7 separate regions of the Homo sapiens genome follow, and regions 2, 3, 4, 5, 6 and 7 are each linked to region 1. Evidence: promoter capture Hi-C in 16 types of primary human blood cells and fetal thymus (Javierre and others, 2016). All regions are on one chromosome and are shown on one strand. Each heading gives the region's core, a stretch centred on a gene start or on the middle of the fragment in contact. The rest is flanking DNA. Distances are from core to core; before and after follow the strand shown.

Region 1 (4,341 bases), core at 805-3,304:
CATCCCCACAGGTTTGATCACCACTAATTTGCAGATGCGGAAACTGACAAGCTCAGAGAGGCTCTCGGTTGCCTTTTGGGAAGTGGCCAAGGCGCGATTTGAATCCAGGTCTCTTACCTCCAGTTTCTGAGACCTTTCTAGACACCAAGGTTATCTCTTCAAATACTGCTGCAAGTAAACAGCTGTGTGAGTATCTAGACTTTTGAAGTTAGCAGACTCTAGGGAATAGGTAGAATAAAATATATGGGTATGTGTTCGCGGGAGCGCTTCTGCCACGTTTTATTCCGAGGCTAGCCTGAGAGATCATGGAAAACATTGCTTCTCCAAAACCACAGCGAAAAACAAGGAAATTAACAAGGCAGAATCGCGATGCGAGACTTGACAAAGTTGTTAATAAGGCGAAGGCCCAAAGCGCTATGCCAGGGCCTGCTACTTCATTTGTTTCAGCGATTAAACCAGCACGACAGGGGGCTGGAGGCAGGTAAAAAGCAGGCTCTTGCGTGGCCCGGACAGTTGATATTCCTGGCACTCGGTGTTCGAGATGTTTCCTTACAATTGCGTGTCTGTGCGGCTCGGTCTCCATATTCCACTCATTTTTGTCTCAACATTTTGTGGTATTTTATCACAAAATACGCCCGGCAAAGCAAAGATCCCGTTCAGTCTCTTTAAACACGGCTATCTTTTCTCAGGAGGCAGCCGCCGGGGCTTCACTCCTGGGCCACCAGCGACGTCCTCCAAGCGGGTCGAGCGGAGGCGCGTTCGCGACCCAGGGGCAGCGTGCCGAGCCCGGGCGTGGGGGGGCGTGGCCTTTCCACTCGGCGACCCCCGGCCACCGCCCACCCCGCGCGTGGGGGCGTGCGCGACTGCGGGGCGCGGAGAGGGGTGACCTCGGACTACCCTAGGCGCCCGCAGCACGCTCTGTACACAGACGCGAGGCGCTGTCCTGAGGTGACACCGGCTGCACGGCACAAGCAGCAGGCGCCGCCGATCAACTAGTTCGCACCGAGGATTCCTCTTGGTGCGTGGCCCAGTTTTCCTTAGGACGGGCTCCAACCCCTCCCTGACACCGCCCCCCTCACCGCCACGCTCCGAGGCCTTCCCCGGGGAAGCCTCGCGTCCCTCCCCCGCGGCTCCGGGCCGCACGCGCGCGATTCCTCGATTCCACAGGCGGTTCGCGCCGCGGGTGGGGGCGGGGCGCGCGGGGAGGGGGCTGGCGGCCGCCAGGGGAGGGGGGCCGGGGCCCGGGGGGCGGAGGAGGGCCGGCGTGGGGAGTTCCTCGCTCGCGGACCACACGCTCCGCGGGCCAATCCCGAGCCAGCCTCTAGCAGTGTCGCACGCGGGACACGTCCAAGCGTTTGTTGGCACGGCCAGTGAGGGGGAGGGGGCGAGGAGGAGGGAGGGGAGTTGAGTGACAGGCTTTGCGGGGCAGGCTGGGAATTGTAGTTCCCAGCTTCCGTGGCCATAGCCATTTTGTAGTCGGGGGACTACAACTTCCAGAAGATCAAGGGGACCATTCTAAGGTGCCCCGGGAATAGGCGGCTCTCCCCGGGGCCGGGCGTCCTGGGGCACTCCTACCCAGCAGCCCGGCTGCAGGTAGACGCGAAGGCAGTGGCGGGGGCTGGCGTGGGGCGGCCGTGGGGTGAGCGGCAGGCAGGGGAAAGGGGGTGAGGTGGAGCGACGGAGCGTGCCATGCATTGAGCTAGGGAGCCTCTCTCAATTCCACGCCTGGGCTCGGCGTGGGAGCGACGCCCGAGGGCTTGCCTGGGAGGGGTTCGTCGAGGTCGCTCGGGTGTCTGGTTGGCCAGGCTGCGGGGGTGCCCTGGACTGGGCCAGGGGCGGTCGGCACCAGGCTAAGCGGGCGCCTGGCGGCTGAGCGGTGGGAGTTTTCGGCTGGCGCCCGGCGGGGAATTATCCGAGGAGCCCTAACTTGTATAAAAGCAGAGTCCATTTAAAGTTGGGCTGGATAGCCTCTCTCTCATTGGTTAGGGGGCTTGGAAAAAAGAGACTCGGCGAGCCCTCGCTGTGGTGCTGCCGCCGCCGCCGCCGCCGCCGCTGGAGTTGACTCTTCTGCTCGCACTGCTGCTGCAGCACAAACGTGACTTCCAACATTTTTTATTTATCTTTCCCTTTTCTTTTCCAAGATGTAACTACGGATCAGACACTAAGGACCTTCACGTTTCGCTGATGTAGTTTTTGGAGGAAAAAGGGGGGGGAGTGAAGGGCGTCGGTTTTTTTTTGTGTGTGTGTGTATGTGTTTCGGGGGAAATTTTCCATTATGAGTGTTTTACTAAAGTGAATTTTTTTTTGTTTGCTTCGTTCGTCTTTGGCTCTTTTTTTTTCCTTCCCAATTTCGGATTTATTTCAAGGCGAATCTGGCTTTGGGGGAAGAGGAAGAAAAGTCGGATTACAAGATCAACCACCACCAACAACAATAAAAACCACCAGGATATTTTTTTGCAAATTTCTGACGGCTTTAAATTCATGAAGCAATTGTCCCCTTTTGCAATCAGCATTTGGATCTCAGAATGAGCAAGGAAAGACCCAAGAGGAATATCATTCAGAAGAAATACGTAAGTGCTCCTAACAACACATCCTTTGACTTGCAGTTTTAAGCAATGGCTGTGAATGTCAAGTTTATAGATAATTCTGCCTCTGAAGGGTTTTAAACACAGCGTCCGATAAGGCTGTTTCTTTTTTTTCTGAAAGAGGGCTTTTCAAGCAAAGTGGTGTCTGCCTAGTTTGGTTGAAAAAACAGACTGGTGTAGAGATACCTCAAGTGAATAAATTGACCTCGAATGACACAACCATAATCTACTTTTAGATGAAAGGCAAGGGATTTTGGTGGAGCTTGAGGTGGGGGGTGGCTGCGGTAATGTAACTAAACTGCATTCTCAAGCGGATTTGGCCCCGTATTGCACTTTGCATGCAAATGAGCCTGTGTTATTATTATTAATGTTATTTGGAAAAATCGTGTAACGCATGTGTGTTGGAAGCCCTTTAAGTTGCGATCGAGGGTCCGATTATGGCGATCTTCTCTTTGCACTGGCACATCAAATTTAATGTCTGTGGTCGTTTTGGCTTATCTGGTTTGCAACATAAACCAGTTGGGAATCATGTTACAGCGAATGCATTTGTTGGGATTGACTTTAATAATGAGGCTGGTTTTGTTTAAAAAATTCATGGTTTCCAGTTGTAGGGGAAAAGGACACACACTATGGCTAATGTTTTTAAGTGTGTACGTGAATGCATATGTAAGTAACTACAAATAATTTCTCCCTGTTAACTGGGCTTCTGAAATTGGGTGATTATTCCTAGATTTAAATGGCTTGGAATAGTTAAATTTGTTTTGTGCATAGTACAGCTACGTTTTGATTGGCATGGGGAGTGTTTTTGTTTTGTGTGTGGTGGCTTTTTTTTTTTTTTAAGTTTGAGGGGAGGGAGGAAAGGGGGACCGAGGGATTAACCAAATATGCACTCGAGTGATCTGTGATTAGCTGCATGCTTTAAATTAAATAACTCTTTTTTTTTTTCAAAAAAGGCCAAATGAACATACCTTAGGAATAATGCAACGTAAGAGGAAAGTTTATTTAAGTTGGGTAGACAAATTGGTGTTAATATTTTCCCTTTTTGATCATTGTGGTGTGTGTAATGAGAGATGACCTTCGGGGCACTGGTTTTGTAAAAAAATATATTTAATGGAAAAGCTGAATGCCTCTTCAAGAGAGCTGATCCTTATCTAGACACGTCAACTTCAACTATGAAAGAAATGCAAGGTTAAATAATCAAGCCCAACTTAGAAAGCTGTTCCATAAAGAATTTAAGAATTAAAATACATCCGCATTGCAGAGGGCTGGGTAGAATGCAAAGGACTAGTTTAAACTCGGGCTGTAGAAACTGCACTGAGGCAACCTTGTCTTGGAGCGTGGACGCCTTCCCGGGGCACGTCCGTTTCGGATGCAGCCACAAAGCAAATGGGGTAGAACTTGGACGAGAACCGCACCCCGCCTCCCATTCCGGACCTCGTTGAGGTGGAGAGCAGCGTGGGGTGGGTTTTCTTTCTTATTGCGGGCGTTCAGCGGATCGTGTCTCCGAGTCCGGGCGTCCGGCTGCAAGCCCGTGGCTGGCGGCGGCTGCGGGAGGCACGGCACGAGTTAATGCACCGGGAGCAGAGCCGGTGTTCCCGACGTCCTCGAGCCGGCTGCGAAAGGGACGGCCCGCGGGGGTCGCGGCAGGCTGGGCCGGGGCTGGGCGGGCGGGCGCGCGCGCGCGGCCTATAGGGGGCATACTCCGGGCTCTAGGCGGGCGCGCGAGGCGGGCACCGGTCTACCCGGGCCGGCTTGC
Region 2 (4,341 bases), core at 795-3,294, 960 kb before region 1:
CTGTATTAAAAAATTACAATATTGGATCTGATTAATTTTGATTGTGTTTTCTCCAATGTTTCTTTCACCTGTCTTCCTGTCACTCCTTTCCAGGTACTTTTCTGTGTCCTTCTGATTCACTCACTTGGTGAACCTAGTACAATAACTAACTATAAGTTCATGAAACTCCTTCCTAAACATCTATACAAGGACTTACTTTTCCAACTAGGTTTTGTTTCTCATTAGAGACACCATTTTCATTACCTACATTTTTTTGGAATTCTGTACCCAAAGACCCAACAATGCAGTGGTATTTACAGAAAAAGGAAACTTACATTCTTGTGACAAGTTTAAAAAAAGAACCTGGTTGGCAGGGTGGATCTACTTCACGCTGTCATCCAGGGACCCAGGTTTCTTGTATTACCAGCATAAGAATTAGAGTAGCTGCCATCTGCTAGGTCGATGCTGGGTTCCTATGGTTCCTGAGAGATGGAAACAGTCATGGAGAGCTCATGTGCAATATTTTGTACCAAGGTCTGGAAATGACTCATAGCACTTCTATTTTCTGTTAAGAATCTAGTCACGTGGCCACACCTGGTAATCACCAGCTGAGTAGCCATGTGCCCAGATGCCATTTTACTATTATAGAAGCCACATACTCAGCTTCCACATAATACAAAAGAAGAAAGAATAAGTTTTGGTAAATAATTAGAAATATGTGCCACAGACCATACACACCATGAAATACTATGCAGCCATAAAAAAGGATGAGCTCATGTCCTTTGCAGGGACATGGATGAAGCTGGAAACCATCATTCTCAGTAAACTATCACAAGGACAGAAAACCAAACACCGCATGTTCTCACTCATAGGTGGGAATTGAACAATAAGAACACATGGACATAGGGCGGGGAAGATCACACCCCAGGGCCTGTCATGGGGTGGGGGTCGGGGGAGAAATAGCATTAGGAGAAACACCTAATGTAAATGACCAGTTAATGGGTACAGCAAACCAACATGGCACATGTATACCTATGTAACAAACCTGCACATTGTGCACATGTACCCTAGAACTTAAAGTATAATACAAAAAAAAAATGCCCCAGACATGTCGCAGTTTTTGAAAGCAATTTTTTAAAAAGTGGAAACTGGCATTCAAAAATCTGAACAATGGCAGCGGGATCATTGTAATAATCGCTTTGGCTAACAAGCGTAATACTTTAAAGTAGTAAGAAGGCTAATCCTTTAAAGGGACGAATCTTTTGTTTTATGCATGTATAAAGTCTGAGATGTTTGTTTCAACCGTTCATTAAAGCATTTTTAGTCGTAGCTAATATTTTACCCCTTCGTGACTTCTATCTTCTTCTAGGAGCCAAGCCTAAGAAGGCATCAACTCAACAGCTTCAGGTCCCAAGGAGATGTGGTATAATTGGCACACAGCAGTTCACATTCTGCTTGCTAGCGACTTCAAAACACTCCTCAAATAAGTATGCAGAGCCATTTCCTCCTATTTTTGACTTCTCACAGCCCTATTCCACCCTTGTATTTTCACCAGTGTTAACTTGTGAGGAAAAACTAGCACCTCATCTTCTTATTTTGTGTGGCTTACAAATTGCCACATATTAAATGGACATATTTGATTTAGTAGCATACATTTAAATGTTTAAAATATGAGGAGTGTTCAGGGAATGCCATTTCACTTAGCAGTCAGTGCTAACATCATTTTTTGAAATGCTCCCCATTTCTACGATGTAGCCAAAGCTTTATTTATCATCAGATTTGCATTTTGTGATGTATTCTTGAGCCAGCCAAACTCATCTAAAAGCAAGCTCATTTAATGCAAAGTAGATTTAAATGTGACTGCTTTAAAATGGACCACCCTGTTTAAATGATCCTCCGGATGTAATTAGAAAAAACTCGAGTTCCTAGGATAGGAAAAAAAAGGGTGAACTAAATGATTTCTCTCTCCCTGGGTAATTTTTGACCACGCACCAATAAAACTGCTGATCATGAAATGATTTATTTTAAATGTAACTTTCCCACAAACGGTTTAACAGGAGGTGGTTTAGAAATGGTACACCACATTTGAGCAGACATCGAAAGTGTGTAACAAACCATGATGTTTATAGCCTTCAGCGTCCCAGACTCTTCAGACAAGAGAGAAAGAGAGGGACAAAAAGAGAAAACAGAAAGAAAGACGAAAAGAAACAAAAAACAGTAGAGTTGTGAGACAATCTATACTCCAATTTTGACTTATATTCAGAAGCATCTTGTTATCTCATGGGGGAACTCAGGCTCTGTTATCCTAACTCAATTTCCATACCAGTAGTAGTGAGTGATGGTAATGTTATTTAGGAGCTATTCACATAAAAGCTTACCATCCAAAGAGGATCTGGTAGTATTAGCATGCTTGTCAAAGCTCCCATCCTCTACACAATGAAGAACCTCGAAACAGAGCTGCCTCTTCCCAAGCCCTGATGAGGCCACGCTTGGTGCCAGCCATTAAAAATAAAAGCCCGTTAAACTTTCAGGACATGCTTCCACATTTTTGGGCACCGCCAAGTTTTCAAGATTTGAGCCAGTTCAGTGATAGTATCAGCAGACCAGCATCTCCTAGGCAATGAAAGTAGTTACCATGGAAACCCCAGAGCTGCACCCATCAACAGCTTTACAATTTTGACAGTTCAGAAAGTGACTATTTAGGAATTTCAATTAGAGCAGAAACATACACATTTAGATGAACAAAATGCTTAAAAAGTCTATAGGAAATGATTTAGATACATATAAATATATATTTTAAATCAGAAGGCAGACTCCTAAATATATTCTGCGTGTAGAAGTGAATTTCAGGAATAATGTAAAAAGCACTTGGTAACGAAAAAAGATGTTAAAGTTCTTTTATCCCTTTTCCTTCCTTGGAAAGGAAATAGGCACCAAGAATAAATAAGTTGTGAAAAATGATCAGCGGATTTTTTTAACAGGGTAGTCACAATATGCCATGCTTGTTAAGTCAGAACTTGTGCATATTATTAAGAAATATTTTAGAATTTTATATTTGCCAATTCCTCATATTTGAACAGTTCTGGCAGGGTAGTCTTTCTTACAACTCTGCTGTAAGAGCTATAACTTTTTTTCCTTTTTATAATAAAGGAAACTGAGGTTCCTGAGGATGGATGGGCTCCACACAGTGGATTCCAAATCAGGACCAGACTCAAATCACTTTGAGCCCTGGTTACTCTTTAATTCATTGGCAACAACAGCTGCTCAAATGAAAAGAGCCACATCAACAAATCTTTCAAACAGAAAGTCAGGCCCCGTTAAATAAAATATACACAAAGCCGAAAACTCAGATCTATAATAAAAGAAACAGGTCCTGTTACTAGAGATACACAATGGTAATAGCAATAATATTAATTTGCAATGGTTAATACTAATATTAATACTAATGCCAACTTCACTGCTAAGAATAGCTGTGCTAGTTATCTTGGTTTTTCTCCTCCATCAGATCCAAGCTCTATGCCCCCCCAAAACTGAACCCATGGACTGCTTCATGTGGGCTCACTTGCCCTCTGCTTCTGGCTGATTTGGCAATGGAGACATACAGAGGAGATCAGAAGGTGGGAGGAGAGAAAGGTTGGTGTGTTCATTCCTCCAATCCCCACCTTGCCTCTTGCACAGCTCCAGCCTCAGGCTAGTTCTTGGTCCTTTCACCATGCTTCATTGATTCCTGAAACCTGCTACCACCTGTGTAAATAGTATCAACATTAAATAACTCTTCAGTTAAACTCTTATCTGCACTATGTATGCCCTGCCCAGACCCGATTGTTACAATAATGAATGCTTATACAAATCCTATATAAATGCTATTTTTTTTTTTTTTTGAGACGGAGTCTCTCTGTCGTCCAGGCTAGAGTGCAATGGCCTGATCTCAGCTCACTGCAACCTCCGCCTCCTGGGTTCAAGCGATTCTCCTGCCTCAGCCTCCTGAGTAGCTGGAATTACAGGCACCCACCACCACGCCAGGCTAACTTTTTTGTATCTTTTGTAGAGATGGGGTTTCACCATGTTGGCCAGGGTGGTCTCGAACTCCTGACCTCATGATCCACCCACCGTGGCCTCCCAAAGTGTTGGGATTACAGGCGTGAGCAACCGCATCCGGCCATAAATGCTTACTCTTAACTCTGCCCCTATTCTAAATGCTTTATGTATATTTAACCTTTGCAATAACCCTATGAGGTAGATGCTGTTGCTCCACCCATTTTATAGATTAAAAAATTAAGGCAGGAACTTTGGAAATGCTTTTTGCATGGATTATTTCCTTGATCCTCATGACTCCCCTATGGGTTGAGGGTAGGGAACTGT
Region 3 (4,341 bases), core at 740-3,239, 820 kb before region 1:
TTAGAAACTTAGAGGAGTATGGCCATGATGCAACTCTCTTGAGATCACACGCCCCCTTCTTCCAGAAAGCCACCAGCTTTTGTTTTCATCAGTAACTGCTAGCAACAGGTCCCTTGTTACTAACATAAATTATGGATAAAGAATTGGTAACAGAGGTACGATAACTCCTCTGCATCTGATAAAATAAAAGGGGACCTGCCTTCCTGGATAGGAACATTCCCAGTAGCAAAAGTAGAAGAAGAAAAAAATATTTACTTCAATGCTCATCCCCTTCTCCCTCCCACTTTCTCACCTTGAAAACAACCTATTGAAAATGTTCACAGAAGGGAGGTTCTGCTCAGTTTTTGGAAGAACGCAGCATCTAAGTATTCATTCCACAATGACTTGAGCTGACCATATCAGTAAATATGTTGTACTCAAACAAAATTGTTCAAGGTGGAATAGAAATAAGGTCTCAGCTCTTGAGAGATAAGGCAAAGGAAGCACAGACTGCTCATCTGAATCTTCATATGGCTGACCTGGAAGAAACCAAAGACTTATTTGGCCAAAGTGTGGTTTTCTATCTGAACAAACATCCAATTATATGCGGAATAGACTCCAGAGCATTTCAGAGAGATAAAGTATAATGACCATGGTATTAGCCTTGCAGAGGCAGATCCCTGGGTTACTGACAAGCCAGAGGGCTTGTGTAACATCTCTGTAACCTACCTGTGTCCAAAATCAGCAGTAAGGACTTATCTGTAGTCTTCTCAGATGTTCTTGATCCTTTTTTGTGTGTCCTAGAACCACTTCATCCCATCCAACACAATGACAACACTTCAAAGAAGAATGTCACAGCCTTTGTAAGTCTTTCTAACAAAAGATGTATTGTCATTACTGGATCTCCTCTTGTTCCACACAAAGTTGTGTCTAGTATTCACTGTTCTGAACAAATCATTTGGTAAAGCATTTCATAAGTTTATTTGGATGAGGATAGCATGGGCTTTTTTGAACCACTGGTGAGAGACGAGTTGGTTATCCAGAGGCTGCAAGACCTGTGCTCCTGGGCTTTGCTGTGTGAAACACCTGTGCATGCAGAATGCAGGATAAATCTTTTGAGACCATTGGATCTACCATGCTCATGAAACTTATCTAAGAAAATCCTTGTAAGGCACAAAAACAGAGAAAGAGGATTGAAAGACCTGGCCGAGATCTTAATCTTTCGTGTTGATTGCAATGTGAGTTGCATTAACAGCAGGTACACAGCTTCTATCACATTCTTTGCCTTTAGAGTCAAGCTTTCATATAGTTCAGGGGGTGCCAAGCTAGGGCCCAAGAGCAAACTATGGCCTGTTGCCTCTTTTTTATATAGCCTGAGTCAAGAATGATTTTTACATTTTTAAATAACTGAGGAAAAAGTCAAAAGAAGAGTTATATTTTGTGACAAACTAAAATTACACAAAATTTACATTTTAGAGTCCACAAGTGAAGTTTTATGGAAGCACAGCCACACCATATTGTCTATATCTGCTTTTCTGCTATACCAACAGAGCTGAGTACTTGCAACAGAGACCATGTGGCCTGCAAAGCAAAAAAATATATAAAATAAAATATTTCTATTGGTCTTTTACCAAAAAAACAGTTTACTGACCCCTGATAAAGTTCAAGTTCATTCTTAAATTCAGCCTTGCTAATTAAATAGACCTGAAGTCTTGCTAAAATGCAAGGATTAGTTTTAGAGAATTATGATGTAATCTATTGGGAAATGAGCCACAAATTATTATCAAATAGGATATAAACTTAATTTTTATTAAAATGGAAAATGTTTCATAAAATTTATTTTAAAAATACAGTTATATAAAGTAGAGACCATCACAGGACATGTGGTATAAAAGAGACCTGACCTGGCCAGGCCCGGTGGCTCACACCTGTAATCCCAGCACTTTGGGAGGCCAAGGTGGGTGGATCATGAGGTCAAGAGACCATCGTGGCCAACATGGTGAAACCCCGTCTCTACTAAAAATACAAAAATTAGCTGGGCGTGGTGGCAGGTGCCGGTAGTCCCAGCTACTTGGGAGGCTGAGGCAGGAGAATTGCTTGAAACCAGGAGGTGGAGGTTGCAGTGAGCTGTGATCGTGCCAATGCACTCCAGCCTGGTGACAGAGCAAGACTCCGTCTCAAACAACAACAACAACAAACAAACAAACCTGACCTGCCTATTAGTCAGGGAAATGAAAATTAAAATGCAAAAGGATACTGTTTCATGCCTCCAAAATTGCCAAAAAATTTTAAAAGTCTGATAATATGAAGGGTTGTGAAGGTGCAGAACAATGTGCATGGGCAATATGTGTACTCACACAACCGCTTTGGAAAGCAGCTTGGCAATTTCTAATAAAATGGAAGATGGGTTTAATAAGATGACTTAGTGACTCCACCCCCAGGTTTATAGCCTATTCTAAAGCAATTCTAGCACCTACGCAAGAGGAAACATGTAGAAAGATGTTCTATGCAACACCAACACGGTAGGTTGTGCTTTCTGCTCCCCTGTGGCTGGGTGGAGCCCTGTGGCTAGTTCTGGTCATTTGAGTTGTGAGCAGAAGTGACACACATGGCTGGAGCATCTATAAGGCCAATGTGAAACCCTTCTGAGTTATAATAAGCCACAGGTTAAATAGAAATTGCAATGGAAAATACTTCAAATTAAATAATAATACTACATATCAAAGCTTACCATTATACTACAAATACTTATCATTACACTATCAAATACTACATATCAGAGTGTTAGCCTTGCTTAGAAGGGAATTTATAGCTTCAAATGCATATTTAGAAAAGAAGAAACACTGAAAAAAATCAATAAACTTTGAATCTTAGCTTGGGTTCCCCAGAAGCAGACCTTGAGCCAAGGATTCAAGGGCGAACAGTTTAATTGGGAGTGAATTAATTAGCTTGGGCTGCCGTAACAAAGTATCACAGGCTAGGTGGCTTAAACAACAGAAATTTATTTTCTCACATTTCTGGAGGCTGAAATCTGAGATCAAGGTGTCAGCAGGTTTGGTTTCTTCTGAGGCTCCTGCCCTTGGCTTGCAGATGTCTGTGTTCTCCCTGTGTCTGCCCATGGGATTCCCTCTGTGTGTGTTGTGTCCTAATCTCTTCTTATAAGGACACCAGTCATAGTGGATTAGAGTGTACCTTCATGATCTCATTTTAATTTCATCACCTCTTTAAAGCTGTATCTCCAAATAAAGCCACATTCTTAGGTACTTTGGCTTCAGACTCGAACAAATAAATTTAGGGGCTTCGTACGTTGAATCTGAGGGGCTCACAGTTCAGTCCCTCACAGGGAAATAGACAAGTAGGAACAGGTAGGAAGTGAGATACGGAGGGAAGACAGATAAATAATAAAGGGTATGTTATGAAGGCAGTCATCACAGCAGGAGACTGGAGCTTGATTGCATTAATTACCAAGAAGAACTCTAGAAAACTAAGTAAAATATGCTTCAGAATTATCTCAGCCGAAGGGCAAGAAGAGTATTTACACCCTGACAGCCTTTGGTCTTTAGTTAAAGGTTTCCTCTGGCGCTGTTAGTTCCCAGGCACCTCCAGCCCACTATGCCCATAGGCTAAGTAAGTTCAGGCAGCCTGGGGACGGCCCTCGGACAAAAATGCAGGTCCCGGCCCTTGGAGGTCTGGGAGTGCACAGGCCTGACGAGGGATCCCAGGACATACCAATGGAGCCCCGTTCGTGTCAGTTAAGAAGCTCTCTCCGGACATTACCAAAGGAGTGGCGAAACAAATCCAAAGAGAAAGCAATCATTGTAACTAATTCAAATGTATAAGCAGACAAGATTCTCAAAACCACAGGCTGATTCCTTAAAATACTAATAAAAGTGAAAAATTGCTGTCAAGATTGATCAGTTAAACTAGAGACAAATGACCTAGTGACAAACAATGTCAGGAATTTTAAAACGGGGCATCATTAAGGATCACGCAGACATGAGATCATTAAGAGAAGTAACAGAAAAAAAAGGGTGAATACCAATTTCACTCCTAGTTATATACTCAAAAGTATTGAAAACAGGCACTCAAACCAATACATGTACATATGTGTTCATGGCAGCACTACTTACAATTTACAAACATCAAAAGGTGAAACAGCCCAAATGTTCATCCATAGATAAATAGACAACAAACTGTGGTATATTCATACAACAGAATATTGTTCAGATATAACAAGAAATGAATTACCAAAACGTGATACAAGGTGAAAAAACCTCAAAAATATTACATTAAGTGAATGGAACCAGACACATATTATATAAATCCATTTATATAAAATAACCAGAACAGGTAAATGCATGG
Region 4 (4,341 bases), core at 588-3,087, 800 kb before region 1:
GTTTTCTAGGGCTTTAATGGAACGCCATTTCTATTGTTTTGTTTTCTTTCCCTTTAAAAAGCTCCCCTTCTCCCCATGGGAATTACACCTGCATCCACCAGGGCCCCACGGGGGAACCATCCCTTGTTCAGAGCCTACCAGCTCCCTCAGGCCTCTGCTCTGGTCCTGTTAGTGCTATTTCCCCAGCATCAGAACACTGTGCAGCACCTGGCCCAGGCCCTATCCACAATTCTAAAATCCCCAAACCTCTGAAAACACAAAAATTTTTATAAACACCTTGGTGGCAAAACATGAAGTGAAGTAAGGTGGCATTTATCCCACTTAGTGTGAATATTCATACATTTGGCTGAGACAGGACTGTGGAAATACCGTGTTTGATTTGCAAAGTGTTGCCTCCAACCCCTCTAGGGATGTTATATAATATTTGGTTTATGCACATTGCCTTTCTCAAATCTGAAAATTTCTGAGTTCTAAAACACATCTGGCCTCAAGGGCTTCTGATATGTGCTTGTGGACTTAGGCACATGTCAATAAATACGTGCTGAATGCACTTCTGAACTCCTCCTTCTTTCCCACCTCCAGGGCTTTGTTACAGGGTCAACTTCTCGATGCTTGGCTCCTTCCTGTCTGATAAGAACCATCCCTCAGCCTTCAGACAAACAGGTGTTAAGTATCTTTTCCTCATCTATCCTAGGCTTGTGGCTTAGATCCCTCTAACACAAGACAAATTAACAAGGGTAAAACATACACATTTCTTTAATATAAGTTTTACATGACATGGAAACTTCAAAAATGAAGACCCACCCCCCAAACAGAGAAACCTGTGTATTTTCATGCTCAGGTTTGATGAAAGTGTGATTGGACAAAGGGAGTATGATGTCATGGTAATAAATGGGGGGGAACTTAGCAAGGTCTGTTTGTCCATATTCTTCGTGGTGTTTCTGTGTCTTCCTTCCTTTTCTCTGGGAGTAAGGAGGGCACTTGTCACATGAGGTCTTATGACCTGCTTCAAGGTAGAAGGGAGAATACATGTAAAAGTGAACTTCCTGCTTCTGTGCTTTTCCCAAATGCCAAGTTGCTATATTTTAAGGTAGCGTGTCCTGAACCCCATCACAGGCTTTTGGTAGGCCTGCCCAGGTTCAGTATGACCACTGGGGGTGATCCACACGTGAACCAAAGCCAGATCCCAACTACACATGGGAGTTTCCTAAAAAGAAATCCACCCTTAACATCATATTAGGAAAAAATAAGATCGAATATTTTCAGATCTGAGCAGGCATTCAGGTCTACTCAGCAGAAAAAATTTTTTTGAAGAAATGTAATCTAGTAGCAGTCATTTATAGACATCCTGAATACAGACATTTATCCACACTCCAGTCACACCGAATCAGTTTCAGATGGGAGTTCTAGAATCCTCTTATTAGTATTATTTTAATCTTTCTCTCTTTTTCCTCCTCACTCTTCTGCCCAAGGTCCGGAGTCTAGTCTCCTTGTATCCCAGAGGGACGTGGTTAGGTTTATTCTGCAGCTGAAGAAGCTCATGCTTCAGGGCCTGTCACTAACTGAAGCCTCTTCCAAGCCCTGCACCTCCTTTTGTATTTGAATTTATGAGTTCTACTCCTTCAAAATGACCTCCCGAGTTAATTACGCTCTAGATCACACAAAACATGACCCCTCCCCTGGGAGATGACAGGTATTGCTGGTCCCAAAGGGAAACCATGGGTAGCTCCCTGTAGTCTTTTCCCATCTTCAGGATGGAGCATCTATAAGACAACCCTTCCTCATGTTAATAATGATGGATTTCTCACTGCATAACTTGGATATTTCATGCTAAAATACTCCCCCACTTCCAGGAATCAGAGGCCTAAGAAAGGGAAAGTCTATACACCTCCCTGAGATAGGGATTTTTACCTCTCATTCGTAGATAAGAACAATGATGCTCAAAGAGCTTGACAAGTCATTTATCTAAGATCATGCAGCTGGTAAGAGATCCAGTCAGAATTTGAACCCAGGTCCTAAACTCCTAAACTGGTGTTTCTTATTTTATCCTGTGTTCCTAATTCATCAGAGGCAACCATTTGAAGAAAGAAATAATCTGGATCCTTCGTTTCAGAGTTAGGTAACTGAACATGCACTTGAGCCTTACAGAGTAACCTAGCCCCAATAGTGCCAACATTTTTAGTGAACACAAAGATAAGTTTTGAGGCTTTCTCCCCTTGAGTTTTGAGGCTGCTTTCTCCCCTTTCACTTTTTTTTTATACCAATGTATGTTTCAGCAGGAAACGTATAGGATAAAATCCTTATACTTCAGGTGCTGATGTGCTTAAGCCACTTAACACTTTTTGGCTTAATTTTTTTAAGAGGGCTTTATGACTTGGAGCTAGAGCAATCCTAACGTGTCTGTGTGACGAACATGCTAATATTTGTGCTAACGGCAGGGTGCAAAATCCAGAAAGGCCAATGACATGGGGCTGAGAGGCAGGACCTTCTTGTCACCCCTGTGTGACATAAGGGTTTCAACAAGGTGGGCTTCCAGGAGTTGATCCAGTGGGGAGTGCAATGCAGAGGTGACAAGGAAGGGACACTCTATGAGTTTATAGGAGCTGTCATAACAAAGTACCACCAACTGAGAGGCTTCAAAAAACAGAAATTTATGGTCTCATAGTTCTGGAGGCTGGAAATCCAAGATCAAGATGTTGGCAGGACCATGCTCCCTCTGAAGGCACCAGGGAAGGATCTAATGTTCCAGGCCTCTCTCCTAGTTTCTGATAGTTCCTTGGCTTGTGGAAGCATGAATCGAACTTTCACATGGTGTTTTTCCTCTGTGTGTGTGTCTGTGTCTAAATTTTTTCTTTTTATTTATTTTTTTTTTGAGACAGAGTCTCACTCATTGTCGCCCATGCTGGAGTGCAGTGGCACTATGTCAGCTCACCACAACTTCTGCCTCCCAGGTTCAAGTGGTTCTCCTGCCTCAGCCTCCTGAGTAGCTGGAACTACAGGCACACGCCACCACGCCCAGCTGATTTTTATATTTTTAGTAGAGATGGGGTTTCGCCATGTTGGCTAGGCTCCTCTCGAGCTCCTGACCTCAGGTGATCTACCTGCTTTGGCCTCCCAAAGTGCTGGGATTATGAGCATGAGCCACCATGCCCAGCCCAAATTTTTTCTTTTGATAAGGATACCCAATCATATTCTATCAGGGGCTCACTCTACTCCAGTATTACCTCATCTTAACTAACTATTATATCTGCAACAACTGTATTTCCAAATAGAGTCACATTTTGAGGCACTGGGGTTAGGATTTCAAAACATAAATTTGGGTCATGAGAACATAATTCAACCCATCACAGACCACCCTCTGGATCATCCTTTTCACATACAAAATGCATTCACCCAAACCTAACACTCCTGAAAGTCTTGACGTATTCTAGTATCAACTCTAAGTTCAAAATCTCATTTAAATATCATCTAAATGAGGTGTGCGTGACAGTCAGTGTGATTCATTCTGGAGCAACATTCTTCTCTAGCTGTGAGCCTATGAAACCAGACAAGTTTACTTGCAAGATAGAAATGTTAGGACAGGTATAGGACAGACATGCCCATTCCAAAAGGGAGAAATCAGAAGGAAAAGGGGACTCAAAAGTTCCAAGCAGGTTCAAAACCTAGCAGGATAAATTCCATTAGATTTTAAGCTTTGAGAATAATCATCTGGCTTGATGCTCTGTCCTCTGAGCTCATTTAAATTATGCAGAAAAAATTAATTTGCTTAAAGTCTACTGATTTAAAAGATTAATCATATCTAAAAAAAACACCTTCACAGCAACATCCAGACTGGTGGTTGACAAAGCAAATGAGCACAATAGCCTAGTTTAGTTGATACATAAAATTAACCATTGCAAATACTTTTTGAGAAATTACTAAAATATGTCCAAGATGGGAGAAAGTCAGGAAGAAGCTCTTAAGAGAGAAGGTGAAGACATGTTTTGGCTGCTTGTCTTAGGCTGTGTCCCAGAGGGGCAGGACTCAGAGGAGTCATCAGCGAAAGATTGTACAAAGCCTAGTTTTAATCTGTCACAATGCTTTAGATCAGAGGAATGCACAGAAAGAACTTTGTGCTTTCAGTTATGACAGAGCCAGAGAATTTTCTCTAGCATCCAGGGTGAAGAGCAGATGAGGTGACTAGGAAGTCAAGTGAAAATAGTGTCAGGAGTAGCCTGAGAGGTACCAGAATACGCCACCCCAAAATATGCCCCTTTGGCATATGGATTATTTTGAGCTCGAGGCCATTAAGAACCAGCAGTCTCAGGAAAAGCTCTAAAACCAGGGCACATGGTTTCCCCT
Region 5 (4,341 bases), core at 801-3,300, 610 kb before region 1:
TGTTTCTCATGCCTACCCATACCTATGAGATGGTGACTCTTCTCATCCTCATTTTTCAGAAGTGGAAGCTGAGCTCCAGGTCTCACATATTGTAAATGGCAGAGCCATTTTTCAAACTCAGGAACCACTTCTCCATTTACGTTTTGGCCATTCCTCTCTGTTGCCAAGACAAGCATAAGTGCCAAGCCATCAAGAAAAGCCCTGTCCTATGCTTTCTCTGCACAGGCAGATTTTCGGAAGGGTGCTCACTGAGGCTGGAATCCAAACGCGGGGAGCACTGTGATGTGAGTCTCTCAGGGCCTCCCTCGGTGGCTGGATGTACCTGCCAGGCTATCCCTCTCAGAGCACCTTCCCTCTGAAGCCCAGGGGGTCCTGTCCAGGCTGCTTTGGGATGCTCCCTGTTCTGTTTTCCTGATGCAGGCTGGAAAACCCCCAACATAGCCATGTGCAACCCTTAAGTTCCACTAGGTGCTGGCCTTCTGTCTCTTTGAGAAGACTTTGAAAATCTGTGTTCTAATCTAATCTGTGCTCAAAAGGTGGGAGATAATGGATGATTCCACTTATATGAGGTCCATAGCAATAGACCAATTCATACAGAGATAGAACAGAATAGAGGTTACCAGAGACTGAGAGGTGACGGGAATAGGGACTTGTTGTTTAATGGGTACAGAGTTTCTATTGGGGATGATGAAAAAGTTATAGATAGATAGATAGATAGATAGATAGATAGATAGATAGATAGACAGACAGACAGCGGTGATGGTTACCCAGCATTGTGAATGGATTTAATGCTACTGAACTGTGCCTTTATGAATGCTTATGAATGCTTAAAATGATACATCTTATGATATTTTTACCATAATAAAAAGATAAATAAATAACATCTGATATATGCTGCAACATAGATATACCTTAAAGACATCACGCTAGGTGAAATAAGCCAGACACAGAAGGACAAATACTGTGTGACTGCACTTATGTGAGATACCTAGAGTGGTCATATATTTCTAGAGACAGAACGTGGAATGGTGGTTTCCAGGGGCTGGGGGAAGAAGAGAATGAGGAGTTGGTGTTTCATAGGTATGGAGTTTCAGTTAGGGATGATGAAAAAATACCCAGAGCTGGATGGTGGTGATGGTTGCACAAGGTTATGAATGCGCTCAATGTCACTGAAATGTACATTTTAAATGGTTAGAATGGTAAATTTTATGTTATGTATATTTTACTCCAATGAACAATTTTTAATAAATGAGGAAGAAGGTATTTTGCCCCACACACCCTCTAAAAAGAGTCTCCTTTGTAACGGGGGCTCAGGAGTCCCAAAGCTGAGACACGGCGAGTCCCCTCCACAGGCCTCCAGCTGCTGGAGGGGTACCTCACAATTCTGAGGATGTAACTAGGCAGGACACAGAGCTGAGGAGGGGTAGGTTCTTGTGGGGCTTCCAGATGCCTCCCAGTGTCTCCACAGGATTGGCTGTGTGTGGCGTCCCTCTGCCCAGGGCTACTACCTCTGTTTTCCTGGCTCAGCCAGCGAGCTAAGGAGCTGTGTCATTGGTGGCTGTTGGGGTCCTGCTCTGGGCTACCTGACAGCTCCAGAAGTGTCCATTTGCTTCCATTACCAATATCCCTGCTTTTAGAAAACTCAATATTCCTGATGCTCAATTCACAAACAGAGAAGTCATGATTGCGATACTCCAGGGTTTCGAAAAAAAATCAGACATATTGATAAAGATATAACAATACATATTTTTTAAATGTCCACATTCCATTTCTCAAGAGCATGCATTTCTCATAAAGTAAGATGCACTGACACTTCTCCCAGGGCTCCAAGGACAATACTCACTGCCACTTTTCCAGCCCAGAGCACTCAGCAGGCCACCTTCACATCCCTCCCTCTACTGGGTGACTTGCAGACTCTGAGCCTCCTCCAGGACCTTTGGAACTACCTGGCTTCCCCCTCTGGGAGCAGCTCTCAAAGCAGGGTCCCCCAGCCCTTTCTAGAAGAGGACCTTTCTCAAAACCCTGTTGAGAAAACAGCCAGTCCCCGGGAGGCCTGCTGTCCTCTCAGCAGTCAGCACAGGTGAACAGGGACTGCAGCAGGTGTCTGCGTGACTTTGTCATTGACAAGCACATCCAGCAGTGCCTTGAGACCTGCTCAGAAAGTTATCTGCTGATACCATCCCTGTGGACACCTCCAGGAGCTGCCAGGGGATACTCAGCCCCAGCCACGTCCAAGTGCAGCCAGAAGCCTGCCCAGGCCAGTGCGTTGGAGTTGTGAGTGATCCTGCTTCCTGACAAGGGCCAGCTGGGCTCCCCCAGCCTCCTGGTCTCCAGACTCCCTGGGCTCAGCCTCCTGTGGCACTCCTGAGCTTCAGAGAGGGCTGGTTCTGTGACTGGAGCTGTCAGCTGCAGAGATACTGCAGAGACACCTTTTAAAATTCATGGCCTTACTCTTCAGAGTTCAGAAACAGATCAGACTCCAAGATGAAAGCGTGGTTTACCCTTTCCCTGGTCCTGCCAGCCCCTTCCCATCTCCCATTCCACCCTCCTTTCCATGTCTCCTTCCCGCAGCTTTCCTTCCCCATTGTCCTCCAGGATATTTTGCATTTATCCTAGTTCTTAATCCACCTGCTTTCATCAACCAAAGCCAAAAGAACACTCCTTTGTTTCCAAAAAGAACATTCGCTCAGCTCGCAATGCAGGCCTGACTCTCAAAGGTATCTCCCTTTGTCAGGTAGGAAGGGCCACGAAAGGTGTGGCTGGGCAAAGGAGATAGAGCAGAGTTTTGAACTGAAAAGGAGGTGGGCGGCAAGGGGTGCAGTTCTCCTTTTTTTTCCAAGAAAGGCATTTGCTGAAGGGCCATCCACCTGAGTCGGGGGGGTGGGGGCGATCCAGGGGCGGGGCAGACAGGCTGGCAGCAGCAGCACATCCTGCCAAGATGAAAGAGCGATGTGTTTGCTTCTTGCCGCGAGTATAAGCAACAACAGAGATCCTCTCAGGAGAATTCCATCCCCAGACATCTCCTTGCAGCATCTCCCCTGTTGGGCCTTTACTAAGAGGCAGCACCTAGTGTCCTCACTGATGTGGGCACCAGGAAAGCTCGCTCTCCTCCCAGACACAGGCTGCCACACTCAAGGCACAGAGACTCTTCGCAGCCACAAGAAGTAAATGGAAGAGAAGCAAAGCCTGCTGACTTCAGGGGCATGGACCCAGTGGCCAGGATGACATGTCCAAGCCACAGAGGGAGAGTCTGCCCTGGGAATGAATGATTCCTTTTGGAAGGAATGATGGATAACACTTATCAAGAATTTATCTGTACCTGACACAGTTCTAAATTCTTCACCTATATCAGCTCACTTAACCCACAAAGCAACCTTATGTAGTACATCTCATTAGCCCCACGGTTAATCTGATGCACCAACTTAGCTAGGCCATGGGACCCAGATATTTGGTCAAACACCAGTGTAGGTATTGCTGTGCAGGTAATTTTTAGATGAGATTAACATTTACATCCGTAGTCTTTGAGCAAAGCAGGTTACCCTGAATAATGTGGGTGGGCCTCATCCAGTCAGTGGAAGGCCTTAAGAGAAATGACTGAGGTCCCCTGGGGAAGAGAGAACCTGCTTCAGAATACCTTCCCACTGGAACGCCATCAACTCCTCCCTGGGTCTCCAGCCTGCCCTGAACGTTTTGGACTTGCTAGTCTCCACAATCGCTTGAGCCAGTTTCTTAAAATAAATCTTCTTCTCCTCCTTCTCCTTCTCTAGTTCTTCTTTTTCTTTTCTCTTCTCGTCTCTTTTCTCTTCTCTTCTTCTTTTTTCTCTCCCTCTCTCATTCTCTCTCTCCACCCCACCCCCCACCCCCAACCTGTTGGTTCTGTTTCTCTGGAGAATCCTAATACACCTTACCTTACAGATGAGGAAACTGAGGTGCAAAGCAGTCAGCTGTTTTGCCCAAGATCTTGAGGCCAGTGAGTGTCCCAGGCAGGACTAGAATGCATGCTGCCTGGCCCCAGACCTGGCTCAGGTAACCAGACAGCCTGCTGCTTCCCTCAGCCACAGGAAGTGGCTCAGCCACAGGAAGTCACGGCTACCTCTCCATTCACAAACCAAAGAAGGTAGGAGGTGGAAGGAAAATGCATTAAAAGTAAAATTCAGCTGGGTCAATGGACAAGGACAGGATATAGACTATAAAACCAATGATATTTGTTTTCATTCTAGGCTTTATTTTGATATCTGTGACCTTAAGTGTGATTTACATCTCTCTGAGCCTCCATTTTCCTGATATGCAAAATACCATAAAAACTTTGCAAGGCTACTGAGGGATTAAATGGGATAATTT
Region 6 (4,341 bases), core at 1,232-3,731, 590 kb before region 1:
AACATCCAAACCCTATCATAGATTTTCCTAATTGGGGTGGTGTAAGTGACTATGCACATAGAGATGGAGATGAAATCAGAAAGAAACTGAGTAACAGCCGTTATTCGCTGAGTATTTACTTCAAGCCAGCCAAGCACATTACCATAGGTAATCCTCCTAACAGCCCTAAGAGGTAGGTCTACTGTCATCCTCATATTACAGATGGGAGAGCCAAGGCTAAGAAGGTTAAATAACATGTACAAAGTCACAGAGGTCTTTAGAGACTGAGCCAGGATTGGAAATCAGGCAGTCTGACTCAAGAGCCGGAAGAACAGACTAGGTAGATGAATGAAAAGCCAGAAAAACAGATAAGGTTCCAACACAAAACGTAAAAGAAAGGAGAAAAGGAGAACTAGGTAGAGACACACATGGAGCAGGTCCCGTGGGTCAGGAATACAGTTCACACTGGATTCCTCAGGGTTCTTTATGCCAACGCAGTTGAGAAACAGCAGTTCCGAGCACTGAGACTCGAATCTCAAACCTTGGTTCCCGCTGCAGCCCTGCTGTTTTAACGCTGTCCCACCGTGGCTTTATCATTGCATGTGGAGAGACTTTTCCCCCCGCTCAGACTCATTAAATTCTGTTAACCAGAACTCGTTTCATGCAAAAGCTGCAGAACTGTGAAGAGGAGCTGAAAGCATGTGGTATGTTTAAATATGCTAGAGCAATATGCTGACCAGCGAGGTTTGTTTATTAAAATTCTTATGCGGGGTGAAGCTCAAATGAGCTTATGTCAGCTAGTTCATAGAGAGGCCCTGTTTTCAAGATTAGGCTGCTGTTTGTCTTCTTTACGGAGCTGACAGAGGACATTCTGGAGAATATAATACATTATGCCAAAAACATCTGTATTATAGAAAATCAACAATGAAGAGCAACAGCTCCAAATGGAGCTAGTACTTTGAAAGGCGTTTATCTGTCAAGAGATTAAACTGCTATTTTCATCTACGGAGGAAACTAGAGGAAGTGTAAACCAGTTTAAGAACAGCAGAAACTAGCCTACTTTTTTCTGCCAAGTTATTTTTGCACATTCAGGAAGACACAGGATGGGTTTTTGTTTTGTTTTTAATCAAACTGAAGAAAATACTTAGAGAGCTATCTTTTCTCAAATCAGAGTACTCAGAGCTGAATGTTTTCCTTATTCTTTTCCCCATAGAATATATGCCTCTGAATGAGACCCAATGGATGAAAGGGGTTTGCTTCTCACAAGGAAGTGGCCTCTTACCGTCCTATTTTAAAACCCCAGAGTGTCACAGGCTTACTCAGATGAGACAGGTCGCTGGCAAACAAATGATATTTGTCACCAATTCCTGCATCAGGGTAATGAGAATAATAAGAAGAAGTGCCTAACATATATTAAGCATTTTCTATCACTAGGTGTTTTATTATACATTCATTATTTCATTTAATCCTCACATCTCTATGAGTTGGGCACCAAAATGATCTACTTTTTAAAAAATCTTATTAAAGTATACCACACATACAGAAAGTTACACATATTTTAAGTATGAAACTCAATGAATTTCACACTCTGAACTGGCCCGAGTAACCATCACCCAGAACAAGACACAGAATACCTACCTCCAGGCCTCTCATGCCTCCATCCAGCCGCACCCCTCAGGGGCAAGCACTATCCCAACGTCTAATCACATAAAGTCGTTTCCCCAAACTTTCAACTTTAAATAAATGCCATTTTACAACTTCCCCTTTCATATCCAGCTTCCTTCACTCAACATTATGCTTGTAGATTCATCCATATTCTTGTGAGTAGTTGTATTGTGCTGTTGTACTGTGGATTGTGTATAGTTATAGATTATTAATCCTTACAGTTGTAGAATATTCCATTATAGAAACACACCACAATTTATTTTTTCTATTTTATTGATGATGGGTTTGCGACCATTTGAAGGTTAAGGTTAAGGTTTAAGCTTAAGAATACTGAGACCCAAGATGTTAAAAATAACTTACAAACCTAGTAAATGGTGGATCCAGGATTACAACTGAAGTTGGCTTAACTCCAAAGCTCATGCTGTGAAGCACCATGCTGCACTGTCTTTCAGAAGAGCAAAGCTTGCAGGGACCTCTCCTTGATGGGTCGAAAGGTCTTTTGTACAAATAATTTGGGGGGCCCGTGGGAAGAAGATATTTGAATAACGTGCCACAAGTCCAAATCCACCACCTCTACAGAGCTCTTTGCCTTTGGGCATGTCTCTTTGCTTCTGATTCCCATCACTTTTTCTCTTTTCTTTTACTTTGATTGACTGTTCCAATAGCCCTATCAGCATTGTGGGACTTAACTGAGTAGCAGAGCCTGGAAACACCTCATTGCATCTGAAACCTAGAGAAGACGCTGGATGTAAGACACATACTTACAGCAACAGCCACTGACAAGGTGAGCACTCTGATGGATACCTGAGTGAAGAAGAGTATGGAGCGTGTCCAAATTCAGTGTACGTGTACATTCTAACTGGTGTGTTGGCTCACCTGTCTTCCTCTCTCTCATGTTTTTCCTACAAATAGTTGATTATGCTGATGCCAGATCATTCTGATGATAAGCATCTATTTGGCACATCCAGTAAACTGATCCATCATAAGGATAATTGTATTCGAATTAGCATTCATATTTTTTACATGCTTTTAGGAGGAAATGGAAAGGAAAGGAAGAAAAATGATACTTTCAAGGAATCACTTAGAGATAGAGGAAATATCAATATTTGAGCTCTTCTAACGGTTTGCTCTCTTCAAATGGATAGAAATCCAATGAAGAGGCTCTGCTCAGCTCAGTAAAGACAGAACACATCTTAGGCAACCTTTTCAGCCCAAGCTTTGGATTTTTCCAACCCTCACAATCAGAAGTGACTGTGGTTGGACTGAGGAGAGCAGGCTCAGAGAAACTCAGGCAAACCTCAAGGAACACTTTCAGCCCAGCTCTCACTCACTGCATCTCAGCCCAGCTCTCTGGTGTTTTCCTGCAGATGGGCACAGAATCATGTGCCTAGTAGGTTATCTGGCCAGTTGACAACTGATCATGCAGCAAATGCACGATTACTGTAGGCCAATGAACATTGCTTGCTAAGATGAGAGAAATCACTGGATCAGCTGAGGTCTGAGCCAGTGTGTCACTTCTATAAATACTGTTGCGGTTTCCAGGTACAGCACCAGAAGAAACCCATCTTTGCTTTACAGAGTCTCTAGATCCTTGTCTTCTCTTCTGTGTCCTCTGATGGAAGGAAGAGGCTGCCAGCACCAACTACCTTCAATTGCCAGGGCTGCTGTAACAAAGTACAATAGATGTGATGGCTTAAACAACAGAAATGTATTGTCTCACAGTTCTGAAGGCTGGAAGTCCAAGATCAAGGTTTAGGCACGGTGGCTTCCCTCTGAGGGCTGTGAGGGAAAAATGTATTCCAGGCCTCTCTTTGCGGCTTGCAGGCGGCCATCTTCATATTCGCATTGTGTTCTGTCTATGTGTGTTTCTCTCTGTCCAAACTTGCTTTTTTTTTTTTTTCTAATAAGGGCACTAGTTATATTGGATTAGGGACCAGCTTCATGATCTCACTTTAACTTAATTGCCTTTGTAAAGAGCCTATCTCCAAATAAGGTCACATTCTGAGGTTCTGGAGGTTAGGACTTCAACATATGGATTGAGGAGAAACACAATTCCACCCGTCGCACCGACACTCACAAAAATGTATTCTCTTCTCCTCAACACACAGAGCTTAACCCTCCCCAGACTCTCTAGGGTCCACACTCTATAAGCTCTGGTCTCAAGTAAATAACCTTATCAAAAAGGAGGAGGTGTACTTGACATGGCCCCGCTGTTCCCATTGCTTTGTGGTCTTCTAGTATCTCTCACCACAGAGAATGATGTTTGGGCTGCCAAGATCCCCTGAGGCCAAACGACTCAGAGGCAGTCCTGTAACTTCCCCTTCACGTGCCTGGTGGCCTCATTCCAAGCCTCTCTCATCACAGATGCAGGTTCATCCCTCCTTCCTTTTGAGGATTGGACTCCAGCTCCCTTCTCCTCTTCCGCTGCCCTGTGAGCAATCTTTTAAGATCTCACTCAATTCATGTCTTCTGTCACAAGTGCTTCTCACTCACATCTTCAGAACAGAACAGAACAGAACAGCATCTTGTTCCAGTTTGTTTTACATGGTTTGACAAAGGAAGAAGGACAAGCATTTCCTCTTTCCATCTGTAATTTCTCCGTAGCTCGCCTAAGCTGCCACTGACAGCCCAGGTCAATGCCTTGGTTTCCTGGGGCTGCAAACTTCTCTTCCAGGAATCCTAGCTTGGATGCTGCTG
Region 7 (4,341 bases), core at 644-3,143, 550 kb before region 1:
GAAATCTTTTTTCAGGAATCTGAGTCTTTAAATTTTTCCTAATGACTTTTCTAAGAACTCGGTGCTGGCTGGGAGCAGTGGCTCACGCCTGTAATCCCAGCACTTTGGGAGGCTGAGGCGGACGGATCACTTGAGGTCAGGAGTCTGAGACCAGCCTGGCCAAAATAGTGAAACCCTGTCTCTACTAAAAATACAAAAATTAGCTGGGCATGGTGGTGTGCGCCTGTAGTCCTAGCTACTAGGGGAGGCCAAGGCATGAGAATCTCTTGAACCTGGGAGGCGCAGGTCGCAGTGAGCTGAGATCACACCACTGCACTCCAGCCTGGGCAACAGAGCGAGACTCCATCTCAAAAACAAACAAACAAAAAAACAACTCAACACTACATTTGCTATTCATGCCTTTAGATCTATATATAAATCCCTTGCCTTTCTTGATAACCCATCCATTTGGCTTAGCAGTTAACAGTATATCTAGAATCAAGCAGACCTGTGTGGAATCTGCTCTACCATTTGCTAGCTGGATGACTTTGGAAAGTTATAATCTTTCTGAACTTCAGTTTCCTCATTTGCAAAATAGAAATAACAATACCCATCTATAGACCAAAACAAAGCATGTAAAGCACTTGGCACAGTGCTCAGGTATGTGATAGGAGCCCACTAAATGTCAGCTATGATTGCTATTGCTATTATTATTATTATTATTATTGTCATTCACCTTCAGGTAGTCAGCTTTCCAGCTCCATTGAAGCCCTCACTGTCCCCTTACCTGCTTTCGATCACTCATCCTGAACACCTTTCTCTCAGCTATACATGGTCAAATACTATTTGTGCTTTCCTGTCCATCTTATTTATTTATTTATCTATTTATTTATTTATTTAGACAGGGTCTTGCTCTGTCACCCAGGCTGGAATGCAGTGGCACGATCTTGGTTCACTGCAGCCTTGACTTCCTGAGCTCAAGCTATCATCCCACCTCTGCCTCCCAAGTAAATGGGGATACAGGCACACGCCACCACACCCAGCTAATTTGGTTTATTTTTTGTAGAGTCGATGTCTCACTATGTTCCCCAGGCTGGTCTTGAACTCCTGGACCCAAGTAATCCTCCTGCCTCAGCCTCCCAAAGTGCTGAGATTACACACCAGAGCCACTGTACCCAGCCCTGTCCTCTCGGCTCACTGCAACCTCTGCCTCCCGGGTTCAAGCAATTCTCCCACTTCAGCCTCCCAAGTAACTGGGACTACAGGCATATGCCACCATGCCTGGTTAATTTTTGTATTTTTGTAGAGATGGGGTTTCACCATGTTGCCCAGGGTGGTCTCGAACTCCTAAGCTCAGGCAATCCACCTGCCTCAGCCTCCTAAAGTGCTAGAATTACAGAAGTGAGCCAGCGTTCCCAGCCCCTGTCCATTTTAAATACTACCTGCTCTATTATGTCTTCTCTAATACTGCCAAGCCAGAAGCAACTTTCTCCTCCACATGCAAATAACACTTTATTTGCTTACTTTCTGTGGAGCTTATTGTTTTCTCTTTTGTATGTAACATATGCAACATACATATGAATCACTGGCCTATAGGCTGTACTCCTTTCTAGAGAGTTTCCTGAGGATGTGGATCATTTTCTATTCATATGTGTCCTTTCCAAAGTGTTCAGCATAGAGCCTTGCCCTTTGTGACAATCAATAAATATGAGTTGAATGAATTAATATTTCTGTCCACTCAGTGCAAAACGTTTGCTCAAAGGCAAAGGACAGGCAATGAGGAGGGTCATAGGGTAATCAATATCTCAATCTTCGTGTCCCCAATCCCTGTCACATGTTACAGTAAATAAAGTGATATGACGTTTACCTAGACATGAAACTTCCTTTCCTTTTCCCTCCCTGCCATTAACTTGGCAATCTTGAGGAAGTCATTACCCATTCTAAGCAGCAGCAACCTCATGGATGAAAATAGGAAGTTGGGTCAAATATCTAAGGACTCTTGTGTTTGTAAAATCCAGTATCTCATATGTCAGACAATTTCTTACTCCCTGATATGGTTTGGATGTTTGTCCCCTCCAAATCTCAAGTTGAAATGTGACCTCCAATGTGGGAGGTAGGGCCTAGTGGGAGGTATTGAATCATGGGGGCGGATTGCTTATGAATGGCTTAGTGCTATACCCTTGGTGATGAGTGAGTTCTCGCTCTGAGTTCACATGAGAATTGATTATTTAAAAGAGTGTGGCACCTCCCCTCTCTCTCTCTTGCTCCCACTCCCATCACATGACACACCTGCTCCTTTTTACCTTCCACCATGATTGAAAGCCTCCTGAAGCCTCACTAGAAGTCAAGCAGATGCCAGCACAATGCTTCCAGTACAGTTTGCAGAACCATGAGCCAATTAAACCTCTTTTATTTATAAGCTACTCAGTTTCAGGTATTCCTTTATAGTGACGCAAAATGGACTCGCACACACGCACAGAGACAAAAGTTTGCAGGAGGGAGCTGAAGCATCAAAGCCACTGAGAGAACAAGTGGGATCCAAGCATCAAGGTTGAGTCCAGGAAACAATAGAAGGATGTACATGAGGAGCAAAGGGTTGGTTAAATGTGAGGTCAGACCTAGGGAAAAACCCATCAGGCCAAGAACAAGATCCACAATGGAGGCTGGAACATGACAAACAGCAACAACAACAAAACATAGTCCACATCAGCTAGCTCAACCAAGAAAATTTAATATGGGGCTCTTGCAGCAAAGGTATCAAAAAAAGATAAGTGTGTGAGGTAATGCATATGTTAATTAGCTTGATTTAGCCATTCCACAATGCATACAAATACTAAAACATTATGTTGTATGCCATAAATACATATGATTTTTATTGTCAATTTTAATTTTTTAAACACACACAAAACCCAAATGAGATTGTAAGGCAGCCCATAGATTGACAATGTCAAAAAGTCACAACCCCTTCTAGGACTGAGGAAATAAAGGAAGGAGGTGATGTTACCCATGCCCACATCCGGGCTGGTCCAGCAGGAGGGATTGTTCCATAACAGCTAGAACAGATGAGACTCAGCTACCCACAAATACACTCTCCCAAGCAGGAAACAAGAGGGATAAATACCTTGGCTTCTCCCATTCTCCTACCTTCCTATGACTCTCTTGGCCAAACCCAGCTGTAAAACCCCTGGCAAGATCGTTTGGGAATAGGGTCTATAGGGGTTAGCATCATGAAGTAAAAAATAGCAGGGGAAATCAGAAAAAGCTCAGAGAGAAAATAAACAACTAACCAACCCAGATGGTGTTGATGGTAGCTTCAGAGAGGATTTTTTTCCAGAATGGGATTTTTTTTTTTTTTTGAGACAAAGTCTCACTTTGACACCCCAGCTGGAGTGCATTGGGGCAATCTTGCCTCACCACAACCTCCGCCTCCCAGGTTCCAGCAATTCTCCTGCCTCAGCCTCCCAAGTAGCTGGGATTATAGACATGTGCCACCACGCCAGGCTAATTTTTGTATTTTCAGTAGAGATGGGGTTTCACCACGTTGGCCAAGCTGGTCTCGAACTCCTGACCTCAAGTGATCCACCTGCCTCGGCCTCCCAAAGTGCTGGGATTACAGGCGTGAGCCACCACATGGGGCCTACGGGTCTGGTACTTCTTTGAAGTTCCCGCCCCCAGCTGTTGCCATCACTCCTTGCTGTAAAGTATGGATGCCTTGGGGGTAACTAAGAAGAGATGTGCTGACAAATGGCCTGGCCTGATAAAATGGGGTTTAGATGTAAAGACTCTGTTATATATACTTAGTTGTGTAAATTCAAGAATTCTCCCCAAGATGCTTTTTAATGTGTTAAACTTACTTGTAACTCATGCTTTTCCGGCTTAGTGCATCCCAGACTAGAATATTAGCCTTGTTTTTCCAAAAGGACATTGATCTTATTGGCTTACCATGTAAACTATTAATTTAGCTTTAACAGTAAACCCATATTCCAAAAGAAACATAAAGTCCAACAGTGTGTTTTCCTGCTGAGTGCTGAAAAACAAGCTTCCTTTTTTCTTTTCCTTTTCTTATATTTCACAATGATATTCATTGACTTACAGCTGTCATTTGTGAAACATACAGTAAAACGACACCACATGCATATTTAACTTACACAAATTTAAGTACGTCTATTACAGAGAGAAAAATAGAGAGAGAGAAGCACACAGGGTCAGTGTAAGGAGAGAGAGGAGAGGGAAGAAATTTTCCAGTTACGTGGCGATTCTACCAACCATTTCACTTAGTGAGCAAATGTACCGGAGTGAGCAGGAGATGTGAGATGTGAATCTATTCTGCCCTGAATCAATTTTTGTTCCTGCTTATCTCTC

The links. The method cuts DNA at HindIII sites, captures the fragments that hold promoters and counts their contacts. A CHiCAGO score of 5 or more calls a contact.
Region 2: a fragment that was not itself captured here is called in contact with the fragment with the promoter of JARID2 in region 1 in 2 of 17 cell types (naive CD4 T cells and total B cells); the score reaches 5.5 in naive CD4 T cells.
Region 3: a fragment that was not itself captured here is called in contact with the fragment with the promoter of JARID2 in region 1 in 1 of 17 cell types (naive B cells); the score reaches 5.2 in naive B cells.
Region 4: a contact is called between a fragment that was not itself captured here and the fragment with the promoter of JARID2 in region 1, in 1 of 17 cell types (fetal thymus). The highest score is 7.7, in fetal thymus.
Region 5: a fragment that was not itself captured here is called in contact with the fragment with the promoter of JARID2 in region 1 in 1 of 17 cell types (fetal thymus); the score reaches 6.4 in fetal thymus.
Region 6: a fragment that was not itself captured here is called in contact with the fragment with the promoter of JARID2 in region 1 in 1 of 17 cell types (fetal thymus); the score reaches 5.9 in fetal thymus.
Region 7: a contact is called between a fragment that was not itself captured here and the fragment with the promoter of JARID2 in region 1, in 2 of 17 cell types (M2 macrophages and neutrophils). The highest score is 6.8, in M2 macrophages.

Annotation. Positions count from the first base shown.
Region 1 is chr6:15,244,015-15,248,355 of GRCh38, forward strand. It overlaps JARID2 (jumonji and AT-rich interaction domain containing 2), which reads left to right and starts at 2,055. Exons shown (of 18, transcript NM_004973.4): 1 at 2,055-2,570. The coding sequence starts at 2,526. It overlaps JARID2-DT (JARID2 divergent transcript), which reads right to left and starts at 1,360. Exons shown (of 1, transcript NR_187237.1): 1 at 1-1,360. It overlaps JARID2-AS1 (JARID2 antisense RNA 1), which reads right to left. Exons shown (of 2, transcript NR_120502.1): 2 at 3,801-4,130. RefSeq lists enhancers at 170-683, 1,873-1,922, 2,033-2,132 and silencers at 683-992, 1,003-1,262, 4,248-4,307. The HindIII fragment of the contact is 5,356 bases long and covers 1-4,341 here.
Region 2 is chr6:14,288,603-14,292,943 of GRCh38, forward strand. It overlaps LOC124901266 (a long non-coding RNA gene), which reads left to right. Exons shown (of 2, transcript XR_007059465.1): 1 at 1-1,466; 2 at 3,485-3,764. Among named protein-coding and RNA genes, the nearest start is that of LINC01108, 5.3 kb to the left of the region's middle. The HindIII fragment of the contact is 612 bases long and covers 1,739-2,350 here.
Region 3 is chr6:14,425,950-14,430,290 of GRCh38, forward strand. LOC105374942 (a long non-coding RNA gene) reads right to left here. Exons shown (of 6, transcript XR_926510.3): 5 at 709-1,065; 6 at 1-518. Among named protein-coding and RNA genes, the nearest start is that of LINC01108, 140 kb to the left of the region's middle. The HindIII fragment of the contact is 1,428 bases long and covers 1,276-2,703 here.
Region 4 is chr6:14,443,911-14,448,251 of GRCh38, forward strand. All of the region lies in intron 2 of LOC105374942 (a long non-coding RNA gene), which reads right to left. The region is part of intron 1 of LOC101928331 (a long non-coding RNA gene); the gene reads left to right. Among named protein-coding and RNA genes, the nearest start is that of LINC01108, 160 kb to the left of the region's middle. The HindIII fragment of the contact is 3,705 bases long and covers 1-3,690 here.
Region 5 is chr6:14,631,349-14,635,689 of GRCh38, forward strand. The region is part of intron 2 of LOC101928354 (a long non-coding RNA gene); the gene reads right to left. Among named protein-coding and RNA genes, the nearest start is that of LINC01108, 350 kb to the left of the region's middle. The HindIII fragment of the contact is 5,778 bases long and covers 1-4,341 here.
Region 6 is chr6:14,655,166-14,659,506 of GRCh38, forward strand. All of the region lies in intron 1 of LOC101928354 (a long non-coding RNA gene), which reads right to left. It overlaps LOC102724463 (a long non-coding RNA gene), which reads left to right and starts at 3,986. Exons shown (of 3, transcript XR_926514.4): 1 at 3,986-4,341. The HindIII fragment of the contact is 754 bases long and covers 2,105-2,858 here.
Region 7 is chr6:14,698,083-14,702,423 of GRCh38, forward strand. The region is part of intron 1 of LOC101928354 (a long non-coding RNA gene); the gene reads right to left. Among named protein-coding and RNA genes, the nearest start is that of LINC01108, 410 kb to the left of the region's middle. The HindIII fragment of the contact is 4,245 bases long and covers 1-4,016 here.